Regions from separate parts of the Homo sapiens genome. Here all the other regions are linked to region 1. Evidence: promoter capture Hi-C in human tissues and cell types (Jung and others, 2019). All regions are on one chromosome and are shown on one strand. The core of a region is centred on a gene start or on the middle of the fragment in contact, and the rest is flanking DNA. Distances in the headings are between cores, read along the strand shown.

Region 1 (2,649 bases), core at 83-2,582:
ATATATTTAATGACAAGTGTGAGCAAGTAGCTCCTACCTCAAATTAACCACTTAGAGTGGTGTATTTTTCACCTCTCAACTCTCTACTCAGACCCTCCTTCCATTGCCCTTAGGGAATTGAAATTCAGAGACATGACGTTTTCCATTATTGGTTCCTTGCCCCTTTGCAACTGTACAACATTCCTCAAAAAGTACATAGAATTCTCCATCCTATAGGATCAGACAACAGTATCTATTTCAGGAGCAATAATATGCATAATGTAAGACAGAATAGTTTTTCTTGGAATTGTCTGTGTTAATTGTGATTTAAAGGTTACTGGTTCCGTCTATGACAATGGTGTTGCTGAGTTCACCTAAGTATTTTTGTTCAATCTGCATACTTTAAAAACTCAATGTGGCTAAAACTCAAACAGTCTAAATTAGACTGTTGTAAGGATACCATGTGCCCTAAACAGTGGTTTTTTTAGAGCATTATACTTAAAGACAACATTTTCCTTAAAAAAAGAAAAAAAACATGTCTATGAAGAAACAAAGATACTGCAAAATTAGTATAGAGAAGAAAAGTCCAAAATTCCGTATTCCTCTGTTTAACAACCTGTACGGTAAATTGTAGGTGACAATCACGTTGTTACATGAATAGGAATGCAAAGCATAAAGAACAAGAGCTACATCTTGCTTTTCCTAAAGAAATTAAAGACAAGTTTAACCCGCACCTGCCAAACTGTCTTAAAAGGGACAGAAATAGGTGGGAACGGAAAGGCTCACCTCTCCTGTACCCCAGAGTGCGTCTCCCTGAAATCATCTTCAATATAGGCAATATATCTGTCACCTTCTCTTTTATCTTTTTCGTCCATTCTAGTCAATGGCAGACCCTTTGCTGCACTCCCCTGCCCACTATCTCAAAGACACATTACAGAATAAGGGGACCCAAGTGTCACTTACCAGTTGCATGCCACAGATAAAGATAAGCGTGCACCTGCCACTGCAATAACCCATGGTTTCCGAGACCCCTGCCACAGCCAGACTGTCCCACGTCGGCCACCGTCGAGCCCCCACTTTATCCAATCAGATCGCGGGGAAGGACACGCAAACCTGCCGAGGGCTCGGGGGCTCCGGGCTGCTGCTGCTGCCAGCGTCCTGGGAAGTGACAGGCATTAGGACCTGCTGGCGCGGCGGCGGCGGCGGCGGCAGCTCCAGCCGCGCCCGCCACACATACCTTCACTCGCTCGGTGCACACGCCGCGCCGCGGGCAGTGCCGCCTGCGGAGGCGCGCTCGGGGCCCGCAGGGGCAGCAGCGGCAGCCTGGCAGCGCCGCCGCGCCCTCGGGCATCTGGCCCGCGAAGTTTCGCCCCTGCCGCTCTCCGCGCCGCTCGCCTCACGCCCCCCAGCGCGGCCGCCGCCCGACGCGCGCTCGCCCTGCGCTCGCCGCGCGCCGGCTCCGGGGGCGGCAGAAGCGCGCGAGGGCCGCTGCCCGCCTCCCTGCGCAGCCCGCGGCTCCTAGGCACCCTGCGTTGCTGGGCCCGGCGGGCGGGGGTGGGGCGGGGAGCGGGGCGCGGGCCGAGCGGGGGCGTCCCGGCTCCGCGGTCCCCGGCGGCTGCTGCAGCGGCTGCTGCGCGCAATGATGCGGGTCCGCGCCGCGTCCCAGCAGCGGCGCTGCCCCTCCCTTCGCCCAGATGTGTGAATCCTCCTCCTACAACAAATCCTTCATCCTGCTCCCTGCCGCCCCCTCCCAGGGGGCCAACTTTGAGGACCGCAGGGGCTGCCGCCCAGGCGGCCGCAGGCGGCGGTGTCTAGGCGGAAAGGAGCGGCGCGAAAGCGGCGGCGGCGGGGACCGGGGCCTCGGGGCGAGGAGTCTGGGCGGCATGACCGCGGTTTGCTGAGCTGAAGTCGGTCGTGCTCCCAGAGCCACTCCGCGGGAGCGAACCGAGTGTGTGTGTGCGCGCGCGCTCGGGGGAGAAGGGACCAAGAGGAGGGTTAGGGAAGGAAGCTGGGGTCATGGAACAGGGGTGCAACCGAGGCATCCAGAGCGGCCGGAAAGCCCGAGTGGCGGAGAGGCCAGAGGTGGCGAGAAGGGGCGCGGCGGCACCGGACGCACCGCCCAGCACCTGGCTCCCCTGGGCTCCCGAGGATCTGAAGGGTCGGAGCGCGGAGAGCTACGGAGCCGACCCTGCTTGGGGAAGGGGACCGAGTTGCTGCTGGAGTTGGGAAAAATTAGCAACCGGAGGGAATAGGGATGCAATGAGTTGCTGTTGCTGCTTCAAACTGTTGTTTGTTTTCACTTAAAATACTAAAGAGTCGGAGACTAGTTTAATACTCAGTTACTTCAGCTTCACAGCAGTCCCAGCTGGGTGTGGATTCCTAGTGGAGATGCACCAGCCTCCGCTGAGCACCGGCCTGAAAGCTGTGAAGCGGCTGCTACCTGCAGAGACAGGCTTCGGAGCCCGCTGCTGCCACCTGCGGGCGGAAAGCTGAAGGGCGCAACATGCTGGCCCAAGTGGCTGCCCCTGGGGCGTGGATATTTAGGACCAAGTTTCCTTTTTAGCCCTGGCAGCTAAGGAAAGCAATCCTAACTTTTCCAGGAAGTGAAGATTATTTGTTGAGATCCACTGAGGAACTGACTCATTGGGGTGAAGTGTCGCGATTGATAAG
Region 2 (2,649 bases), core at 99-2,598, 770 kb before region 1:
CATTAGGGAGTACCCCAAGCTCAATAATGCTGTGGCTTGCGCAAACTCATAGAGATGCTGCCCTGATGGTCTTAGTTAAGATCTAGAATAATTCTCTAGAATACCAGGCACAGACTCTTATTCTCTTCCCTTATTTTCTCCTAAACAAAGAGTCTCTCTCTCTCCACCCTGCTATCTCTCTTTCTGTCTCTTTCTGCGCTGAGCTGCCTGGAGCTGGGGGAGGGGTGACAAAAGCACCCTCTGGCCACCACCACTGGGACTGTGCTGGGTCAGACCTGAAGCCAGCACAGCACTGAGTCTCACCCAAGGCCTGCCTGGCTACCACTTACGTTCACTCAAGGCCCTAGGGTTCTATAATTAGCAGGTGGCAAAACTAGCCATGCCGTTTTCTTCCCTTCAGGGTGATGAGTTGCCCCTGGCCCCAGTAGGTTCAGAGATGCCATACAGGAGCAGGGCCCAGAGTTGAAACCCTTAGAAATCTACCTGTTGCTCTATTCTACTGAGGCTGAACTGGCATCCAAGCCACAAGATGAAGTCCTTCCCACTCTTTCCTCTCTTTTCCACAAGCAGAGGAGTCTCTCTCTGTGGCTGGCATAGATCCAGGCCCATAGCAAGTACTGCCTGGCTACTGCCAATGTTCACTCAAGGCCCAAGGGCTCTTTAGTCAGCTTGTGCTGAATGCTACCAGGTCTGAGACTCTCCCTTCAGGACAGTAGGATGCTCTCTGACCCAGAGCAGAGCAGGTCCAGAAATTCTTTCCAAGAGCTAAGGCCTAGAATCAGGGACCCCAAGATCCTGCTTGGTACTCTACCTAACTGTGACAGAGCTGGTAAGGAAGCTGCAAGACAAAGTCTCCTTCACTCTTCCCTCCCCTTTTCTCAAGCAGAAGGTTGCTCTCCCTGTAGCCACTATGGCTTGGAATATGCTAGGTCATGCTTGAAGCCAGCTTGTCTCTGAGTCTTACCCAAGGCCCATGGTGAGTACTTCCTGGCTACCACTGTTGACTATTCAGGGCCCAAGGGCTCTTTAATCAGCAGCTGATGAATCCTGCCAGGACTAAGTACTTTACTTCAAGATAGCAGGTTCCCTTCTGGCCTAGTACATGTCTAGAAATGTTGTCTAGAAGGTACGGCCTGGAATGCGGGCCTCAGGATTCTGCCTGGTGCTCTGTCCTACTGTGGCTGAGGTGGTATCTAAGTTGCAAGATAAAGTCCTCTTTACTTTTCCTTGTCCTCTCCTCAAGGAGAGGGAAAGAGTCTCTCCTAGAGCTGTGAGCTGCACTGCCTGAGGTGGTGGGAGGGGTGGTGCAAGTACTCCCTTGGCTGCCCCAGCTATTATCTCATTAGGTTGCATACCCCTAAATCCACTGGCTGTGAGCGAAGCACAGCACCAGAACTTGCCCAGGAATTGCAGTCCTTGTGGCCTACACTGCCTTTCAAGTTTATTTAGAATCCAAGAGCACTTTAGCTTGCATTGGTGAGGCTTACCAGAATTCAGGTTCTGACGTCTGGGAAGGGCAATTTCTTTCTGGTGAGGGCTGGTCTAAATGCTTCCTCTGTGAGTGCTGGCTGAGTTCTGGCCAGGGTTGTTTTCCACTGTGACAGGGCAGCACCAAGTTCTAATGGAAAATCTCACAATCACTGTGCCTTCTGTCCCCCAAGCACACAGATTCTTGCTCCACACTATGCAGCTGCTGCTGGGGGGTGCAGGAGGGGTGGTGACAGCAATTCAAGACTGTCTTTCCTTTCCTCTTCCTTGCCTTTTTCAGTAATATGAGCATAAAACCAGGTACAGTGATCACTCACCTGATTTTGGTTCTTATGAAGGTAATTTTTGTGTGTGGATAGTTGTTCAATTTGGTGTTCCTGCAGGGAGGATGACTGGTGAAGGCTTCTATTCAGCCATCTTGCTCCATCTCCTTTCTTGCTCATTTTTTAACTGAATATTTTTCCTTTGAGTTTTGAAAATACTTGATATAGTCTGATGGTAAGCCCATTATCAGGTATATAATTTGAAAATATTTATCTTTCATTTCCTTACCCATGTTTCAAAAAAGCAGAGGTTTCAGTTCTTACAAATCCCAATGTATCATTTTAACAAACGGATTGTGCTTTTGGTGTCTTATTTAAGAGGTCTTTGCCTAACCAGAGTCATGAAGTTTTCTTCTCTGTTTTGTTCTAGCAGTTTTATAGCTTTGGGTTTACATTTAGGTCTATGATTCATTTTAACTTAATTTTTGTATACAGTTTGAGGTATGGATCTTTTTTGACACTATACAAAAGTCTACAAGTGCGTTTCTTAAAGAGTATTTGGAACGTGCCAATATTTACAACCCTATCAGTGAACTTTTCATTGTTTTTTTTTACATTGAAATTTATTGGTCTATCTGGCATAATTGTTTTGCCAAGGCATGATATTTTGAAATTATGTATTACTCATTTGGAAAATATTGGTTCACTGAGCTGTGCAGATTTTCCAAATGTTAACACGCTGCCCCACTACTTTATAAAATATAAAACGATTCTTAATAGTGCTAAGAATCACATAAAATATCTTCATATATTTGTAAGCTGTCCAGCCCAGTGTGGTTCGCATGACTTTTCCAAAATTCTAACTTTTGCTTAGAAGTTCAAGTGTGACCACTGGCAT
Region 3 (2,649 bases), core at 45-2,544, 760 kb before region 1:
TTTTAGGATATATTTACCATTAAAGTAATGCAATGGAATTATGCAAAGACTGTCTCCCATCCACCCCAGCTTGGAAGGTGAATCTGCTACTCTTCTTTTTCCAGTTATAGATGAAAAAAAAGAAGAAGAAGAAAAGGAAAGAAAACAATACATCTTAAGCACTGCGATCTTCCTCTCATTAAGTCTTGTTATATGAAGAATTGAGGTGGTGGGTTGGGGAGGGAGAAAGCTAAGCAACTAAAACAAATTTAATGTTTTTAAAATATTTTTTCCCACAGACCAGATTGCAATTTACAATCTTGCCATTCCATCAAATGCTATGACACTTCACAATGCTGCCTAAATGCAAAATTGGCCAGGTTTAACATAATAGCTGGCTGCATAAAACACGAGATTGCAAATGTCATGGGAAAGAGATGATGAATGGCTGTGGGATATTTATATACACTGTATAGATATGTTGACGAAACTGCTTGAAGGAAATGTGTTAAAACTGATTATTTTAGCTACAGATTTGGATGAAATGTGGCTTTTTGTATTGTAGGCATCTGGGATCCTAAGGTCTCCTACAGTGGCATCACTTCTCCTGCTTCGGACTTTTCCCCTCAGTAATCATTCTGTTTACATCACTGTTGCTCTGTGCCCTGAAACAAGACAGTGACTCACATCAGGGCTGATGAGGGCACTGCTGAGGACTTGGCCTCTTTTCCTAGGTGACCTGCCCAGAAATTCCTGCTTTTCTATCACCTCTGGGTCTAGAAGATTGCTGGGCTTCACTAGAATGTCTGGTGCCTTAATCATCTGCCTACCTCTGCAGCATCTTCCAGGAAGCAAAGTCACATTTAGGAGGTGAAAGTTTTCAAATGATCTGGGCACTATAGTAATGATAAACTCACTCTTGGTCATTTTTCAGGTTTTGATTTAAACAAAAAATAATATTTAAAGTAGATTATTTCAACTTTTCCTCTGAGATATAATGTGGTAAGCAACAAAACTCGCTAAGAAGGTGAATTTTTTCACATAGAATCTTAGGATTATGATAATAATTGCTCATCTTTATATCATGCTTACTATGTGCCAGGCACTGTTCTCATTTAATTCTTATAGTATACATACAGGGTAGCCTCATCGTTGTATTCATTTGAAAGATGAAGAAAGTGAGAAACAGAAAAGTTAAATAACTTTACTAGGGCTACATAGGTAATAAGTAGAAGATCCAAGATTCAAACCCAGAATGGCAAAGATTACATGCTTTTAATTATGATGCTTGTATTAGTTCGTTCTTGCACTGCAAAACAAAGACATACCTGAGGCTGTGTAATTTATAAAGGAAAGAGTTTTAATTGACTCACAGTTCAGCATGGCTGGGGAGGCCTCAGGAAACTTACAATCATGGCAGAAGGGGAAGCAAACAGTCCTTCTTCACATGGTGGCAGAAAGGAGAAGTGCCAAGCAAAAGGGGAAAAGTCCCTTATAAAACCATCAAATCTCAAGAGAACTGACTCACTATCATGAGAGAAGCATGGAGGTAACTGCCCCCATGATTTAATTACCTCCCACCTGGTTCCTCCATGAGATGTGTGAATTATGGGAACTACAAGTCAAAATGAGATTTGGGTGGGGACACAGCCAAGCCATATCAATGCTATATATTTCCTTGTCGATAAATAATACAAACCTCAAAAACATAATGCCACATTTTAATACCATATACAGGAACTAATCTCATATTTTGACCTAAAGGTGCTTTGACTGGGTGTTAACGTTGTGCTGGCGAATGTGAGATAACATAAGCCGAAGTGTGGGCAGATGCATCAGTCAGAATAGTCTAGGTTATCTTGTGGAAGTGAACCATCTCATGATCTTGATGGCTTAAAGCAAAAAAAAAAAAAAAAAAAAAAAAAAATGGTTTATTTCTTACTCGCCTTCCACATCTATCATTGCCTAGCTGAGGGGGCTCTGCTCCACTTTCTGTAGTCCTCAGACCAGAACCCAGGATGACCCAGGACGTGGCATCCCCTCTATGTGGCATGATAGAAGGAGGAAAAAATGTGACAGAGCATTAGCCAGTTATTAAAAGTTCTGCCTAGAGATGATATATATCATTTCTCTTACATTCTGTTAGCCAAAGAGAATCACATTGCCCAACTTAACTCTGAGGTGGCATGAAAGTACAATTCATCTCCTTGTCTAGAATGAAGGGAAAGTTGGGATATATAGAAGCAGTCCTCAGGACTATCCCAGCAGGGTCAGCCATAATGTTGAGAAGTGCGTAGTTGAGACGGTAAGGAATCGTCTATCGCTGAAGGCTAGGAACATTGATCCATGACAAATGAGTCACTTAGCCTCAGCTCGTCACTTCTTTGAGACAACTTGTATGTCCACTCAAAACTCAGCTAAAAGCCCTGCTACACACTCTCAAAACCCCTGAGTCTCCATTCCTCTCACTTATTATATTGGCCATTATCTATTCTATTCTGCACAGGATTTTATATATTATCCATGAAGGCAGAGAATAAACGTGTATTGGTTTATTCTTTGACACTGCTGTATTCAACCATCCTCCACCCCACCTTGCTACTTCAAGATTCATATCAGTCCAATAAATATTTATTAAGGCAGAAAATATGTATTAGAATACGAGGAGTA
Region 4 (2,649 bases), core at 38-2,537, 700 kb before region 1:
GCATAAATGCAGCAATTTCCTGAGTGAGTGGCAGATGGTCAGACAAGTCATGAGCTCACCAAACACTTTTTGTTCACAGATGCAAGTGTTGTGGTAGAACGAAATAAAGACGTCTAACTAGCAAGATAAACTGCAGGAAAAATAATTTACATTAGCCCAACGATGACCTATAATAAGGCAGTCTATTACTAATACTGATAGAAGAACAAAACCGAGTATATATGCAGCAAAGTCATGGGTAAAGTGTACTACTCATTCATGTAGCTGGCATTGTCTTCTTTCGGTTCTCTAGGATCATAAACTTTGCAGAGTTAATTATGAATTCTTTCCTTCATCCACCCTTTCTAAGTCCTATTGATAATGGCATAGTCTCTTGAATCTTAATCATCAGATAAAATTGTCTCAAAGCTGATTGCCCAGTGAAAGATAACTTCCTCTAAACTGAATGTGCACTTATTACTTGTTGGGAAGGCAGCGATTGGAATTCCATCCCACACTACTTCTACAGTGTTATTTACTCACCCCTTGACTTAAAGATAACTGTTATGAATTGAGTTGTGTTTCCTAAAAAGATATATCGAAGTCCTAAGCCGCAGGGCATCATAATGTAACCTTATTTATAGGTAGGATAATTTCAGTTGTAATTAATTAAAATGAGGTCATACTGGAACAGGACGGACCCTTAATCCAATATGACTGGTGTCCTTTTAAAACAAGGAGAAAGCACACAGAGAGAAGAATGCTATATGATGAGATAGATGCACAGAGAGAAGATGGTCATGTGATGATGAAGGCAGAGCTTCCTTTACAGCTGCAAACCAAAATCGAAGATTGTCTGCAACAACCAGAAGCCAGGAGCAGGAATACGGCTCTTCCAACACCTTGATTTCACTGCTAGCCTCCAGAACTGCATAATAATAATTTTTGGTTGTTTAAGCTTGTGGTACTTTGTTACAGCAGCCTAAAGACTAATACAAGCTCATGGCCAGGCGTGGTGGCTCATACCTGTAATCCCAGCACTTTGGGAGGCCGAGGCGGGCAGATCACGAGGTCAAGAGATCGAGACCATTCTGGCTAACACGGTGAAACCCCATCTCTACTAAAAATACAAAAAAAAATTAGCCGGGCATGGTGGCGCCTGTAGTCCCAGCTACTAGGGAGGCTGAGGCAGGAGAATGGCGTGAACCCGGGAGGCGGAGCTTGCAGCGAGCCGAGATCAAGCCACTGCACTCCAGCCTGGGTGACAGAGCGAGACTCCATCTCAAAAAAGAAAAGAAAAGAAAAAAAAAAGACTAATACAAGCTCATTTCATTTTCTCTGACTAATTGAGTGGGTTTTTTGTTTTTTGTTTTTTGGTTTTTATTTTTTTGAGGCCGGATCTTACTCTGTCACTCAGGCTAGAGTGCAGTGGCATGATCACTGCTCACTACAGCCTTAACCTCCCAAGCTCAAGTGATCTTCCCACCTTAGCCTCTCTAGTAGCTAGGACTACAGGTGTGTGCCATCGTGCCCAGCTTTTTTTTTTTTTTTCTTTTGGTACAGATGGGGTCTCACCATATTGCCCAGGCTGGTCTCAAACTCCTGGACTCAAGTGATCCTTCTGCCTTGGCCTGCCAAAATGTAGGGATTACAGGCGTAAGCTATTGTGCCTGGCCTAATTGGGTGTTTTTACCTGTTTGTTAGTATGTGTTCTAAACTTAAATTCTTGAGTCTGTTTCCTAAACATAAATTATCACTTATATTGTAGTCTTTAAGAGTGGAGCCCTTGAATTCTATTTCTTTACTTTTTCTCATTTCTAATGTCTTTCTATTATGTCCCCGGGTTTGGTACCATGCTGAATGCAGGGACTCAACAGTTCTTGCTGTCCCACTGAACCTCATATCATAAATATTGTAAAGATAAATCAGCACATAACAGAATGGCAGAAAAATGTAGTATTTTGAGTATTAGGATTAAGTGTCCTCTTTTATTATTACATGTCTATTAAAAAGTCATGTGTAAAGCTGCCCCTCCTGTACATCTATATTATGAAAACATACACAAAATGCTGCAGGGATTTATATCATAGTTGTGATAGAGAGAAATGTTTAGATGCAATTAAAGATGGATACGCTGACTACCAAAAGCATATATTTAAACCAAGCAAAAAACCACCATAATTAAAATATCATGGTCCTGATGTAAGAATAAAAATTTTCCCATACTGATGGGAAAAATATGAAGTTCTAAAGCTCTGTAATAGAAATATAGGATAAGGTAGCATTTCAATTCAATATAGAAACGAAGCTTTAGTCATTTACTTGTTCTGAGAAAACTGCTTCCTTGTTAGGAAGCCTAGATCTTTATCTCACACATCACATAGACTACAAATGCAAATTTCACAACTCAAAGAATAATATGCCCCACATTTTCAAGGGTGCAGTGAAACAAACCCTCGCGTACTTTGCTGGTACAAATAAAAGTCAGTAAAACCTTCCCAAAGTGAAATTTGGTAATCTGTGCAAAAAACTTTAAAAATGCTTATCCTTTCTTCTTTGTTATTATAAATTTGGAACTCTTAACTTGAGCAAGTATTCTAATAGGAGAGGGATGTCACTAAAACTAGAGCTTCTTAGACTTTAATGTTCCCATGAGTCACTTGGAGCTTC
Region 5 (2,649 bases), core at 51-2,550, 590 kb before region 1:
AAAACAATTTCAAATGTATACAATTTAAACAGTTTTTTTTTAAATTCTTTTTTTTCCACATTTCAACGCCCACTCTAGTATTGCATAACATATTGGTTGAAATTGTTGGGTTCAAAATCTGGCTTAATGCAAACCTGGTTATAATTAAAAAAAAAAAACTCTCTGTGACACAGTATCTCAATCAATAAAGCAGGGACAATCATCTATTATTAAATGAGGTAAAACAGCCCAATGGTAGGTACACAGTGAATGTACACAATTGTTAGCTATTATTTGGAGTAATTATATTATCGTTGTTCTTAGACGTCATCATTATTGGTAAGCACTGAATATGTTTGAATTGAATTCTACCATAATGTGTTCTAGAAAAAAGTAAATAATTATCAGAAATTACTGAAAAATTATAATTACATTTATTTATATTATTTAAATTACAATGCAATTTATACAAACTGTTAATTTCTTTGAGCAAAATTTCAAAGCAGGAACACTACACTATAAATGTTAAAACCATCATTATAATTTTCTTTATTATGTGTATTTAGAGTTATATTTAGGGATATATTAAATAATTATATCAGAGATATGAATAAAAATCAAAGGCCCATATTTATTTTATCAGATCTATGGAAGTATCAACCACTACTGTTAATAAAACAGTTAACTGTTCCTTTTCCAGATAAAAAAGTAAAATCATTCTCTAATGCCTTTTTGTATTTTCACCACAACTTACAAAAATCATAAAGTTCTAATGTTCTGATGATAATTAATACTTCTCCATAAGAAAGACTAAATAATGCCTGTATTAAAGTTAAAAATAAATTTAAACAAATAGAATTCATCTTTTAAATGTAACCTTTCCATCACTGTGGGAAATGCCACTATCTTTGATGCATCAGAAGCAAGTTTTTGGTCATCTTTGATGCCTCATACACCTCCCACTCTCCCACACATAATTCTAATTCAACAATATCTGTAATAGTTATTTATTCCTTTCCATCTATACACATTCTTAATGATCTCTGGCCTGAATTGCTGAAACATACTCTCCATCAGCAACTCTGATTCTAGACCTTCTTCCCTTTAAGTAAGGCAGAATGACATGACTGAAATCACAGTTCTGACTCATCGTGTTTCATTAAAACTATTCCCCTTATGTATCTCTACTAGTCAGCCGATGCCCTTCATCAAATCTAGGTGACAGACTTTTTCCAAGCCTCATTGAATCTCTTTTTTTCTTTTCTTTTTTTTTTTTTTAATCAAATAGCAGGTCTTATTCATTATTCCTTTTGTGTTTTTTTGGTACCCATTTTATTGTATCAATTCCTCTCTCATTCCCAGCCACTCTCTTTGCTTGAAAAATTTATTCTTCACATCTTGGTATTATCTTTCCCCCTTTCATATTCTATTCTAATAGTAACAATTTATTATTAAATTATTAAATATTATTAAATCTTGCGATGCCCATGGCATCTTACCATGTATTGGGAGATACCCATTGTTTCATTTTGAGTGGTAGAGTGTTTTTAACCTCATCTGTTTAATAAGATAAAGTCCTAGAGAACAAACCAGTAGTGCCTTCTCCCTGGACTGAGGGCACCTGGAGATATGTATATATAAATGCAAAGTACCATGGAAGTTATACCAGATTATAAGCTCCTGAGGGCAGAGGTTTTGTATGTTTTGTTCACTGATGTAGCCCCAGAGCCTAGAGGCTTAGCACACAGTGGTCACTCAATAAGTATTTGTTGAACACAGTTAAAGAATAAATGAGCAAATATATCACCACAAGACTAAATGATACTTATTACTCCGAGACTCTGTATAGGACATATAACAATATTTTCAGCATGGAATGATACTAGATCTATTTTCCTATAAAGCAATTTCAGCAACTATTTATTCAAATGCTTCCACACTGGACATATCCATTGCCATTCTATTTATGAATGTAATCAAAGAAATAATCAAATGAAAAACATCACTGATGTTACTTTACCTAAAAGTGAAATGGGGATAATGATCTGAAGGGTTTAAGAGAGGAATTTAATATTACATTCCTCTAACTCACATGCTAAGTTTCAGTTGTGACTGAGATGTTTACCTTTCCAAGTCAGCTGGTATTAGAGACATCCATGAGTATCTCAATTTTATTAACCATTTCTTTTATCTCTTTTGGAAAACTAGAATGCAACATTATGTGTTTACCACTGAATGAGATTAATTTATGGGTTTTAATGTTGTTAGTAACTTGTTATAAGTGTATCTATGATATCCACTTATAACCATAAATAAAGAATACACTATTTGGTAAATGAAATAACAGGAATAATTTTCAGTATAAAAGGTAAAAATGCAAAATTCAAAATATGACAGATGGAAGAATTTCATAGAAGATTTCTCTCTGGAATCACCTATGACTTGGATGGAGTTTGGATGTTCATCCTGTGGGAATAGGACAGTGTTGGCAAGCATATTGAGAACATCAGGAAAAAGGGGGTACCTTCAAATTTGAAGTATTAAAATATTCATGAGAAGATTTATTTCAATTACTTTGTACCTATTTTATGTTTAATTTTGTCTATTTTTAATTATATACAGAGGAGGTATTATAAATCATCTTCAATGTTAACTCACTTACAGGTCTTA

The links. The method cuts DNA at HindIII sites, captures the fragments that hold promoters and counts their contacts. A contact is called where the count stands out against the background at its distance.
Region 2: a contact is called between a fragment that was not itself captured here and the fragment with the promoter of NKAIN2 in region 1, in 2 of the 25 tissues and cell types used here (dorsolateral prefrontal cortex and mesenchymal stem cells).
Region 3: a contact is called between a fragment that was not itself captured here and the fragment with the promoter of NKAIN2 in region 1, in 3 of the 25 tissues and cell types used here (dorsolateral prefrontal cortex, hippocampus and mesenchymal stem cells).
Region 4: a fragment that was not itself captured here is called in contact with the fragment with the promoter of NKAIN2 in region 1 in 1 of the 25 tissues and cell types used here (dorsolateral prefrontal cortex).
Region 5: a fragment that was not itself captured here is called in contact with the fragment with the promoter of NKAIN2 in region 1 in 1 of the 25 tissues and cell types used here (spleen).

Annotation. Positions count from the first base shown.
Region 1 is chr6:123,802,548-123,805,196 of GRCh38, reverse strand. It overlaps NKAIN2 (sodium/potassium transporting ATPase interacting 2), which reads right to left and starts at 1,332. Exons shown (of 7, transcript NM_001040214.3): 1 at 943-1,332. The coding sequence starts at 996. RefSeq lists an enhancer at 2,527-2,576. The HindIII fragment of the contact is 12,261 bases long and covers 1-2,649 here.
Region 2 is chr6:124,576,404-124,579,052 of GRCh38, reverse strand. The region is part of intron 3 of NKAIN2 (sodium/potassium transporting ATPase interacting 2); the gene reads right to left. Among named protein-coding and RNA genes, the nearest start is that of RNF217, 380 kb to the left of the region's middle. The HindIII fragment of the contact is 6,037 bases long and covers 1-2,649 here.
Region 3 is chr6:124,559,092-124,561,740 of GRCh38, reverse strand. The region is part of intron 3 of NKAIN2 (sodium/potassium transporting ATPase interacting 2); the gene reads right to left. Among named protein-coding and RNA genes, the nearest start is that of RNF217, 400 kb to the left of the region's middle. The HindIII fragment of the contact is 6,104 bases long and covers 1-2,649 here.
Region 4 is chr6:124,506,977-124,509,625 of GRCh38, reverse strand. The region is part of intron 3 of NKAIN2 (sodium/potassium transporting ATPase interacting 2); the gene reads right to left. Among named protein-coding and RNA genes, the nearest start is that of RNF217, 450 kb to the left of the region's middle. The HindIII fragment of the contact is 3,829 bases long and covers 1-2,649 here.
Region 5 is chr6:124,395,037-124,397,685 of GRCh38, reverse strand. The region is part of intron 3 of NKAIN2 (sodium/potassium transporting ATPase interacting 2); the gene reads right to left. Among named protein-coding and RNA genes, the nearest start is that of RNF217, 570 kb to the left of the region's middle. The HindIII fragment of the contact is 7,615 bases long and covers 1-2,649 here.